2 separate regions of the Homo sapiens genome follow, and region 1 is linked to region 2. The links are contacts of gene promoters, found by promoter capture Hi-C in blood cells and fetal thymus (Javierre and others, 2016). All regions are on one chromosome and are shown on one strand. Each heading gives the region's core, a stretch centred on a gene start or on the middle of the fragment in contact. The rest is flanking DNA. Distances are from core to core; before and after follow the strand shown.

Region 1 (5,874 bases), core at 982-3,481, 47 kb before region 2:
AAAAAAAAAAAAAGCGTCAACCAATAAAACAAAAATCACAAACATTCACCATCTGAGATAACCCACTAGCCATCCATGTCTGAGGTCAGGAATGCTAAAGAAAGCTGAACTGAAAGTGTTGTATTGTGACCTAGTTGCAGGAAGAGTGACACGAGGGGAGGGCTGCCTTTTTGGCAGCTACACGGTAGTCCATGAGATGGGCGCATCCAGCTCTCAACATTTCATAACATCCTCTTCTGAGGTCACTCAGTCAATTTTCCTTACAAAACAGACTTTGATAATGATTTGCCCATTAGACTTCCCTACAGGAAAAAGCATGCTTTGAACAAGCTTATTGGCACTGTTCTCCTAACTGTGGGTGTTTTGGTTTAGACTCATAAGAGTCTGGTTAGCATAATTCATTTCCCTTGTGCCTACTTATCTCTAGGTACACTGACAAAATGGAATGTCAGGGCTGGCAAAGCCCTGCTCCTGGAGACCCTGGCCTGGAATGACCTCATCAAGACCCCGCTGCCCTGGGACACCCTCTCTGAGCAATCAGTCAGCACCCCCTTCCTGTTGGTCCCTTGCTTTTAAAATTGTTTTATGATTTCTGATTCTGGGAATGTAATATTTCCTCCTATCACTTCCAGCTTGAGGTTGGAACTCTTCTCTAGGTCTCAGTGCCAGGAAAGAGGTAGGGTGCTTATACTTAAGAGCACCCTGTTCACACATTCCAGCTCCAGTTGTTCCCATCTTGGTTGGATTTGTTAATTTCTGCAGGTTTCCAACCTCTAAGTCACTTTGAATTTTTTTCCCTTCCATCTGATAGACCCTGAGGTACAGTAGTTGATAGTACTAGACTAGTCCTAACTCTAATTAAGGGGTAGCATAAGTTGGGGATGGTGGCTCACGCCTGTAATCCCAGCACTTTGGGAGACTAAGGTGGGAGGATTGCTTGAGCCCAGGAGTTCAAGACCAGACTAGACAGTATAATGAGACCTCGTCTCTGTTGGGGGAGCTAGCATAGCTTAGTAATGAAGCCTCTGACACCTGAAAGTAGGCTGTTTAAGATTTGAATCTCAACTCATCCATTTACTAACTAGGTGACCCTGGGGAAGCAACATGTCTCCATGCCTCAGTTTTCTCACCTGTAAAATGATTGTAGAATGACTTCTCATCTGTAAAAGGATTGTTATGAAGATTAAATGAATGAATATTTGTAAAGCAATAGTGCCTGGCACTTACAAAGCCCTACTGAAGTTTTACTTAAATAATATAGTAGATGGGAATATAACATAATGAAATCAACTCCTTAAAAATGAACACCCTGGAACATAAACATCCAAATGAGTATTGTGTTTCAAATCAGGCATTCCACTTTCTCCAAACAGCTGCCCAAAATATTTTTGGAATTCTTATTTGGAGATTATTTTCAGGGCTAATTTATAAGCCATATGAGTACATCCACCTCAATATTTATAATCACATTCTATTTTGAAATAACTTTTGACTGCTTTTAAAGCTACCTTCAAAGAGAAAAATGTCACCACTGAGTCTTTTAAGGCACAAAAATTTCAATGACAATGCCAGAAATGTTTTATAAATAACATTCCAGCAAAAGAAAAACAATTTTTTTTTTTTGGTAGGAGTGTGTAGACTTCAAAGGGCAAACCTTGAAAGGGACAACAGTAATTTATAAGCTTCAGATTGTCTGCTTAAACCATCAACCCCACAGCTTCCTGGTTATACTCCCTGGTTATACCTCGTATATCTGGGAGCTGCCAACCCCCACAGGGGCGCAGTGTTGAGCAGCTGCCACTGGACCAGCAGGCTCTGGTCCTGGAAGGCTTGTCCAAAATTCAGAATCTTGATCCACAACTCAGAATTACCCAGTGAAAATCTTCGGTTTTCCACAAGGTCCTCTCCAAGTGATTCATCTGCACAGGAAAGTTTGAGAAGTGCTGCTCTAGCCTAAAGCTCTAATGGAATCCTTCATTGTTCATCTTGTGAGTACTTGGGTTACTAGAAGGGACCTGCCTGAATCTACTGAGCCTCATCAATGGGGATGTCATTGAGGTTTTCACAGTGAGGAGATGGTGATCTGGGAGGGAGTCATCAAAGGGCCCATGTTTAGGGCCGTCTAGGGAGGAGGCAGCACATCTGGATTTCCACTAGAAGGCGCTGTGCCCCAGGAAGTAGTAGTGAAAAGCTGAGGCTGGAAAAGACTCATTTAATTTGCAACATACCACTTCTGACTTAACTGAGCCTGTTCCACAGGGATTCTCTGGGTAATGAGGACTCAGATTTCATCCATCTACTTATCTATCCATTCATCCATCCATCCATCCATCCATCCATCCATCCATCCATCCACTCATTCATTCATTCATTCATTCTTCATTCTTCCCATAAACTAGCATCTCTTAGTTCTTAAGTCATTGGGGGCTGCAAAGCTGTATAAGATACTTCTTGCCTAGAGTAGTTTATTTTTGAGCTGAGTTTGTCAACTGAGATTTGCCCCTCATCCAAAGTCAAGTGACCAGCATAGACTGTTCAATATGCTGTAGTCGGTCTCTTGTTTCTAGGTACTTCTCTCCATATCCACAAAAAGAAACTGTAGGGAAAGATGGTGCAGGACTTTATTCCTGGCATGAGACCTGAAACTAATTCCTGAGTCAGGAAGAATGCAGGAGCTGCCTTGCAGAAGCAAAGGTCTAAATCAGTGGTTTCCAAACTTTTTAGAACTGATAAACTAGGACAAACTTTTCACCACTGAATGAAAAAATGAGGTCAATGTGGTAAGCTTTTAAAATGCTAAATGCATTTAATCCAAAGGACTGTCCTCTAGGCTGAGACAATGACCTTTTTATTTTTGAGGTATTAAAGTGACTTTTATAAAACTATGGAGAAAGTAGGTGATAGGTGTTTTTTTGTTTGTTTTTGTTTTTGTTTGTTTGTTTTTTAGACGGAGTCTTGCTCTTGGCTCACTGCAACCTCTGCCTCCCAGGTTCAAGCGATTCTCCTGCCTCAGCCTCCTGAGTAGCTGGGATTACAGGCATGTGCCGCCACACCCAGCTCATTTTTGTATTTTTAGTAGGGACGGGGTTTCACCTTGTTGGCCAGGTTAGTCTTGAACTCCTGACCTCAGGTAATCCACCTGCCTCGGCCTCCCAAAGTGTTGAGATTACAGGCATGAGCCACTGTACCCAGCCAGTGATAGGTTTTAAAAAACATCTTTTCTTGGAAACGTTTTAAATTGGCAATGTTGGTCTCCAAAATTAGTTTTGAGTTACTGGTCAGAAAAATCTGCAAATACAAAGCTCACTACAGAGTTCAGAGAGCCAAAGCATCAGGCTGAGCAGAAATGGTCCTGGGTGAGTAGGGGGTCTGAGGAGGCATGCTCAGAGGGAGATGTGTTCCTGTTCTGTTGGGCAATGGTCCATGCTGACACCTATCCTCCTGCCCAATAACCAGTAGTGCCTAGTATGATCTGTGCTAGGCCTTGGAGATATGAATTAAATAAGACCCATTCTTACTCTGAGATCATTTTAGTTCGGGGTTAATCAGATGAGTGAAGAACTAATTAGAACTATGCCAGACATATATACAAAGTGTGTTGGAGCTTAGATCGTTGATTCTACCAGGATACAACATTTGATCTGAGTTCCAAGGCATGCATAGTACTTTTCCTGGAAAAGAAAGGGAAAGGATATTCTACTTGGGAGGCTGAGGCAGGAGAATCACTTAAGGCTGAGAGGCGGAGGTTGTAGTGAGCCGAGATTGCTCCACTGCACTCCAGCCTGGGTGAGAGAATGAGACTCTGTCTCAAAAAAGATAAAAAGGAAAGGGTATTCTAGGCAAAGAGAAAGGCATAAGTAAAAGCAAGGAAGTATGATGCACAGATAGCATAGGAAAAGACAAGTTGTAGCTACAACATTAGATATGGAGGGGAGGGAGGCCGGGGAGGGCGGATCACTTGAGGCCAGGAGTTCGAGACTAGCCTGGCCAACATGGTGAAACCCCATCTCTACTAAAAATACAAAAATTAGATGGGTGCAATGGCACATGCCTGTAATTCCCCCTAAAACAAACAAACAAAGAAACAACAAAGATATGGAGGAGAGAGTGGAGGGTGAGAGGCTGGAGCCAAATTTTGATGAATCTCTTACTTGAGTCAGGCCTTTTTCCTGGAGGCTGGTGTTTCTTCACATTTTGTGGTAACATTGCTTTGGGGATCCATTGACAGCCACAGCCTTGTTCTCCAAAGTAATACACCTATGATAAAATATCAGGAATTCACAAATTTCCTGAAGGCTGTCCATAGGCTTTGTGTCAGGCATTGAGGGGAGAGGGGCATTTAAGTTCCCATTTTTAAGCAGAAGAGAGACATAGTCATATCTGTGTTTTAGAAAGGTTAGGTGTAAATGGATAATTATATCCTGATAAAAGTCTTCATTCAGGAGAGACAGAAGAGAATTTCTGCTCCCTGGACTAGTAGTTGATGTTGGAGCTCGGGGACTAATACTCATCTAGGGATGAACGAGGGACTCTTCCCTCAAATCACACCTATAGATGTTTTCTCTTTAGCATGGAGGTAGAGGGGATGAACATGTTGGATAAAAAAAAATGGATATGAGGCTTGAGTGTGTCATCCAGAAGATCACCAAGATGGCTAGATGGTAGAAAGGAGAGCTATATTGGTGATATCAGTTTGCAGCTGGGAAGAGAAAGTCTCCAACGTGGACCAATGGTGCTCTTTCTTCTTCTTCTTCTTTTTTTTTTTTTTTTTTTTTGAGACAGTATTTCATTCTGTCACCCAGGCTGGAGTGCAGTGGTGTGATCATAGCTCACTGCAGCCTTGAATTCCTGGTCTCAAGCCATCCTCCCATCACAGCCTCCCAAGTAGCTGGGACCACATGCACACACCACCACACTCAACTAATTTTTGTATTTTTTGTAGAGACAGGGTTTCACCATGTTGCCCAGTCTGGTCTTGAACTCCTGTGCTCAAGTGATCCACCCACCTCGGCCTCCCAGTGGGCTGGGATTACAGGTGTGAGCCACCTCACCTGGCCTGCTCTTTCTTCAAGGAGGGGAAGGACACGTTGGGTTTTATGCTTCACAGAGCTTGTGTCATACACATTCAGCAGATTTGGGGAAAAGCTATACATATTTATGAGGGAACTCTATGTATGGGCAATGGGTAAACATGTATGTAACATACATGCCACGTTCACTTTGGGGTAGGATTTTGGCATTGAAATGAGGTGGAATTGGCTCCACATCAAAAGATGAACTATAGGACACCAAGGCAATTTGTGCACAGCCTCTATAAGCTGTCTGAAACTGGCTTAAGGTCTGCAATAGCTTCTGAGAAAAGAATATTTGTAAGGCTGGTCCTCTGTCTAATCAGACTTGGGGTCTGGGTTGTAAATCAGAGCTCATAGCTCCTATTATTAGAGACCTTAGCCATAGGAATTTAGCAATTTGCTATGCCAGCCGGCACCTTGGACCCATAGGTAAGTTACTTTCCTTAAGCTTTGAGTCTGTCTTACTTGATAATGGTGCATCCATTTTGGTCTCTCAGATCAAAAGAGGAAGATCTAATATCAAGTGTATAATGTTTTCTAGAGTCAGGGTAGCCAAAACAGCATGAAAAGAGACGTATCCATGTTATACTGATATTGTTAGCATTGAGCATTTGACATGATGGTACAATGTGCAAATTTCAAATGTAATTTTAAGTTAAAAGGGAAAGATACATACAAAAATTGCAACAATCTGACTTGAATTTCTTTTATTTCCAAACTTTCTTCTAAATTTCAGTCATACTGGCCACGGTGTTTCATGCCTGTAATCCCAGCTGAGGCGGGTGGATCATAAGGTCAGGAG
Region 2 (6,267 bases), core at 1-2,500:
CAATCAGAGTGCAGGGAGGGGTCCTAAGTTTTATCCAGAGGGCGTCATAGGAAGCTTTCTTTCTTTCTTTCCAGGCCAGGATAAGTGTTACCAGCTCTGTAAAGTCTTTCTCTCCCTCTTTTTTTTTTTTTTTTTTTTTTTTGAGATGGAGTCTCGCTCACCCAGGCTGGAGTGCAGTGGCATGATCATGGCTCACTGCAACCTCTGCCTCCTGGGTTCAAATGATTCTCCTGCCTCAGCCTCCTGAGTAGCTGAGATTACAAGCCTGCACCACCATGCCCGGATAATTTTTGTATTTTTAGTAGAGATGGAGTTTCGCCATGTTGGCCAGGGTGGTCTCGAGCGCCTGACCTCAAATGATCCGCCTGCCTCTGCCTCCCAGTGTGCTGGGATTACAAGCGTGATTCACCGCGCTCGACCTGCAAAGCCTTTCTTGACACATCCGTCTTTCCTCACTGATCTGTTCGTTTTTTGATGGCAGAGACCTTGTCTCACTCATTTTTATGTCCTCACACGGAAAACGGTGGCTGGCTAATAGTGGTTACTCAATAAGTATTTGTTGAATGGATTAATAAAATAATTCCTAGCAGTCATTTGGCATGGAATCATGTACAGTCGTGCTGTTTATTGTTTTCTAGGGCATGTCTTTCCAGCACAAAATGATGGTAAATTTTCTGGGTGCAGAGACGGCTCTTACTGTATTTTACAGGCTACCCAGTGCCTAGTCCAGTGGTGGGTAATGCTTACAGGAATGTACCTGTTAGAAGTTCTTACAGAATTCTTTTGTTTTGTTTTGTTTTCTGACAGGGTCTCACTCTGTCGCCCAGGCTGGAGTGCAGTGGCGCAATCACAGCTCACTGCAACCTCCACCTCCAGAGGCTCAAGGGATCCTTCCACCTCCGCCTGCCGAGTAACTGGAACCACAGTCGTGTGCCACCGCGCCCAGCTAATTTTTGTATTTGTTGTAGAGATGTGGTTTCGCCATGTTATCCTGGCTGGTCTCAAGCGATCCGCCCGTCTCGGCCTCCCGAAGTGCTGGGATTACGGGCGGGCGCCACCTCTGCATAAGTCTTAGGCCTGCAAAACAGTCTTAAAAACATATAATATTTAACTTGAGAGGTGCAGTCCTCCTCTACATTGAGGGCAGGCTCAGCGAAGGAGGGCCCAAGACATAAAACTAACCAATGGCAGGAAAGCCCCCATGCCCCACCCAAGCTGCCCCTCCTCCCTCGCAGCTGAGCTTTTCTTTCAGTCCTTCACTGAGGAGCCAGAGGGAATCAATTCCACAAGCTGGGGTAAGTAAAGGTGTTTGGGGGAGGGCAGGTGCCTAATTTACAAATTTTTAAAGAGATCATATTTAAACTAAATGCAGGTAGTTTTGTGCCTAGTCAGGAAGGCCCTAATTTACACAATATAAGTTGGTTATGTGTGTTTAATGAAATTATACTTCAAATGCTTGAAGAGATCACATTTTCAAAAGCAATTCCATGGGGAAGGGAATTTTCTGCAAAGTAAATAAATATCTCAGAATGAACTTATATTCTAATTGTGAATGTCCATGTATTAAATTTGCTTATTCTGAGGCCCAAATGTTTGCTTATTTTGTTTAAAAACTTTACTTGGGATCATTAACATTCATACTAATTATTTTAAATGTAAGTTTTGTTAATTTCACTGATGAGTTCTCTCTGGGGCATAAAAAACCAATTCTTATGCTACATTATAGTCAGGAATTTGAAGGCCTGTAAATTGTTATCTGTTCAGCAATACTTTAGGGTCCGGGTCTTCCCAACTGCCTTCCTCCCTGTTTCCTTCTTACTCAGCAAGCTCAGTGGGGCCTCCCTGGGGCTAAAAGGAGTAGTTACCCTGTGACTCTTTCTTTGAGGGTCCAAGTAGGAACCTTTATAGCCCAGATCCTGGGGCCCTGGGCGGCCCACTGATTCATTTCAATTCCACTGCCTTTCATTTCTCTTCTCCTATCTTACTGCCTCTTCTTTAGCTATTCACAAGAGGAAATAGGATTTTATTTTTCATTATTTATTATATAAAAATTACACATCCAATCTTCTCAATTCTCAGTTCTTAAAGAAATCAACTAAGCCTTCAAAGACTTTTAGTTTTGCGTTTTCCATGGGTAACTGGTCCTAAAAATTCTCCCCATCCCCACAGAACAGAATGACCAATCTTTCAGGCTTGGCCCTGAATTTGTTTTTCAGTTGAGGAGAACAGGAGATGGAGAAAGCAAGTGGAAGACAGTCCATTGCTCTGTCCACAGTGGAGACTGGCACAGTGAACCCGGGGCTGGAGCTCATGGTAATCACCAGTTTAGTTTCTCTCTGCAGAGCTGTGGGCTGCTGCATGGGCTCCTGTAGGGTATTTGGCTGCTCTCAATCCCCATCATCCCTGGCAGGGCTCCATGACTGATCCCAATGCTCTCTGTGCTTGTAGGAAAAAGAAGTAGAGCCTGAGGGAAGCAAGAGGACTGACGCACAAGGACACAGCCTGGGGGATGGACTGGGCCCTTCCACTTACCAGAGGTACTGGTGTTTTGGAATCTTGTTCAGTTAGGAAAGGATCTAGGGTGGGCTGCCCCTTCAGGCAGCTTGTGGTATTATCACAACCGCTCCACCTTACCATGTGTACATATATATATGTATCTTACATAATTAATTAACTTAAACATGTGCCATAAACTCCATAAAAAAAAAGGAGTTCAGCAGTATCAGTGTTGGTTGGACTGAAAATAAAAATAATAACAATGGTAATAATGGCTAACAGATTTTGAGTGTATACTTACTATTTTGCAGATTGCTTTATGTTATACATTTATTTTCATTACAACAGGTAGGTATTCATTTTAATCCCTTTAGAAATTAATTTACCATATCATTAAAAAAACAGTAGCTCTTCTGGAATACTCAGATTTGGGAATGGTGGAGAGGAAGGGAAACCTGGGGAGAAAACACAGAAGGACTTATTATAAGGATAATAAAGACAGTAAAAAAGATCTTAGAAGTCAAAAGAGAAGAGTCTCAAGAATGAAGAAGGTACAGTCCACAGTGCTATGTGAACAGGGGTCTAGGAAGGAGGAGTGAGAAAAATCTTTGAATTTGTTTGTGGATCTGGTCCCAGAAGTAATGTCAAAGAAAATTGTTTGAGTAAAATAGATCATATGGAAAGAAGCAATGTTCCATGGTCTGGAAAACAGTGGGTATTTATAAAAGAGTGCAGAAGTCATACACTAAAAGCTGAGAAGAGGACATTGGATAGCTTCTAAAGGGAATACGGTCATGAGCTACATAATGATGTTTCAGTCAATGATGGACCGCATTATACAATGGTGTATAATCATGTATATCAACGGTGTATATCATTACACAACGGTGGTCCCATAAAATTATAATACTGTATTTTTACTGTGCCTTTTCTATGTTTAGATATGTTTAGATACACAAATACTTACCATTGTGCTATAGTTGCCTACAGTATTAAGTACAGAAACATGCTGAACAGATTTGCAGCCTAAGAATAATAGGATCCACCATATAGCTTGGATGTGTCGTAAGCTATACCATCTAGGTTTGCATAAGTACACTGTAAGATGTTAGCATAATTATGAAATTGACTAATGTTGAATTTATCAGAATGTATCCCTGTTGTTAAGTAACACATGACTATATATGGAGATGATTCAGAGCAGCTTCCAAACAAAAGGTTATTTTTATATTTTCTTCTCTTTATTTTTGAAAGTTACCTCAGTGACTTCTTAAAATTTTTAATTGTTTTATTCACAATTTGCTTCTCTCTAAAAATTTTTATATTATCATGTTTTATATATACTGAATTGACAGTAAATTCTTTGTAAGTTTTTCATGCTTACATGATATTTCATATTTTACTTAGCAGTGTGGCCGTTAATCATGTGAGTCACATTGCTTGTGTCTATATTTGAACAGTGGTATGCTAGTAAATGTTTAAGAATTGACTCTCCACCGGGCTAGTGGCTCATGCCTGTAATCCCAGCACTTCGTGAGGCTGAGGTGAGAGGATCACTTGAGCCCAGGAATTCAAGACCAGCCTGAGCAACATAGTGAGACCTGCCTCTACAAAAATTTTTAAAAATTAGCAGGGCATGGTGGTGCGTGCCTGTAGTCCCAGCTATTCCAGGAGGCCGAGGTGGGAGGATCACTTGAGCCCAGGAGGTTAAGGCTGCAGTGAGCCATGATCGTGCCACTGTACTCCAGCCTAGGGGACAGAGTGAGACCGTCTTGAAAAAAAAAAAAGAAGAAAGAACCGGCTGTCCACATGTAGTTTTGCAATGAATGTTGGTTAATATTTTTGCTCACCTTAATGAGGAGTAAGACCAGGGGTTGGCAAACTTTTCCTGTAAAAGATAAGGTAGTAAATATTATTGGTTTTGTGGTTGATGTGGTCTCTGTTGCAATTATTAAACTCTACCATTTTCGTAGGAAAGCAGCCACAGGTGATACTAAACAAATGAGCATGGCTGTGTTTTGATAAAACTTAATTTTTAAAAAGAAGGTGAGATGAACTTGGCCCACAGACCACAGCTTGCTAATCTTTAGTCTAGATGAAATAATAAATTAAGACCTTATTTACAGTATTCGCCTGTAACGTAAAAACTCTCAACATGGCTGATTTCAAGTAACCAAAGGGTTACTTGAACAAGGAGTTGGGAAGAGATGTATCATTATATAAAATTTCCACCATACACATACAGCAGACATGAATAACTTCATGAGCTCACATGACAGAAAAATGTAGCAAAATAATTAGAAAATGATGAGTTTTTAGTATTTATTACCTTTGTCTTTAATGTAATTTAATTATACGTTTATATAGTTTTAATTTTTAGTAATGGCTTGCACAATTCCTGAAAATGTAACAATCACTTCTCTCAAGCCAGCGCAGGCCAGCTTCCCCTGCACCACTGACTCTAGCACTTACCAGATTTTGGGCAAGTTATTTACCCTCTCTAAACCTCAGTTTTCACCCTGTAAAACAAGAATAATATTAGTACTTAGCTGAAAGGATCTTGGTAATTTTTTTTTGCCAGACTGTTGTTGGCACCTTAAACTGCTCTGATATATAACATGTCCAGTTCCCTTCAAGTCTTATCGACCTTATATTTTCTCATATAAACCATGTTAACTAGTTACATAGATATAAAATCATGCCTTAAAGTTCTAACTTGCATTTATTTTTATTTTTTGAGAAATGAGGTCTTACTTCATTACCCAGGCTGGTCTTGAATTGCTGGGCCCAAACAATCCTCATGTCTCAGCCTCCCAAAGTGCTGAGATTACAGGTGTGAGCCATGTGCCTGACCTTAACTTGCATTTCTTTAAATTTTTGTAAAGCTACACATTTTCCTCCATTTGCCTTACTTTCCATATTTCTACGTGTGATTTTCTTTTCTTTTTTTTTGGAAACGGAGTCTCACTCTGTCATCCAGGCTGGAGTGCAGTGGTGTGATCACTGCAACCTCCACCTCCCGGGTTCAAGCGATTCTCCTGTCTCAGCCTCCCGAGTAGCTGGGATTACACGTGCTACCACACCCAGCTAATTTTTTTTTTGTATTTTTAGTAGAGATGGTGTTTCACCATCTTGGCCAGGCTGGTCTTGAACTCCTGACCTCAGGTGATCTGCCCACCTCAGCCTCCCAAAGTGCTGGGATTATAGGCGTGAACCACTGTGGCCGGCCTACTTTTCTTTATCAACTAAAGTAAGTTCTGGATTTTGAACCTCATTTCCTTTCTCCTGACCAACTCTAATAGAACCCACATAGATTTCTTGTTTCCAGTTCTCCCCACCTCCTGCCAATCTATCCTATATAGCTTCTACCAAAACTACCTAAAGTATGTCTGAACTCCCTTATATCACAAACCTCTGTAGCTCTCCAGTTGCTCCTGAACAAAGCCAAACTCCACAGCCTGGTATTCAATTCTCCCCAAAACCTCTTCCCCACAACCAGGATCTGTATCCAACTTGACTTTCCAACATTAACTCTTGCAATTCCCTTTCTAATGCCACCCTATGCTCTAGTGAAAGTCAACTATCAACTGTTCCTTATATGTAATCCCCAGTTTCCTGCCTCCATGTCATGCATGTCATTACATCATTGCTTATGAGTGTACTGTCTTCATTTTTTGTCTTTGTGCCCAAATACAACACATATTTTAAGGCTCAACTCAAGAGCAATCATGTCCATGAAACTTTCCCTGATGCTGCCTCTCCTCCCCTCAA

Evidence for each region. The method cuts DNA at HindIII sites, captures the fragments that hold promoters and counts their contacts. A CHiCAGO score of 5 or more calls a contact.
Region 1: a contact is called between a fragment that was not itself captured here and the fragment with the promoter of SLC28A2 in region 2, in 1 of 17 cell types (M2 macrophages). The highest score is 5.0, in M2 macrophages.

The regions. Positions count from the first base shown.
Region 1 is chr15:45,203,171-45,209,044 of GRCh38, forward strand. No RefSeq gene overlaps it. Among named protein-coding and RNA genes, the nearest start is that of TRH-GTG1-9, 5.0 kb to the left of the region's middle. The HindIII fragment of the contact is 1,103 bases long and covers 1,681-2,783 here.
Region 2 is chr15:45,250,984-45,257,250 of GRCh38, forward strand. It overlaps SLC28A2 (solute carrier family 28 member 2), which reads left to right and starts at 1,251. Exons shown (of 18, transcript NM_004212.4): 1 at 1,251-1,295; 2 at 2,217-2,313; 3 at 2,449-2,537. The coding sequence starts at 2,233. SLC28A2-AS1 (SLC28A2 antisense RNA 1) reads right to left here. Exons shown (of 5, transcript NR_120335.1): 2 at 4,969-5,015; 3 at 4,347-4,384; 4 at 2,883-2,951; 5 at 598-1,089. The HindIII fragment of the contact is 6,298 bases long and covers 53-6,267 here.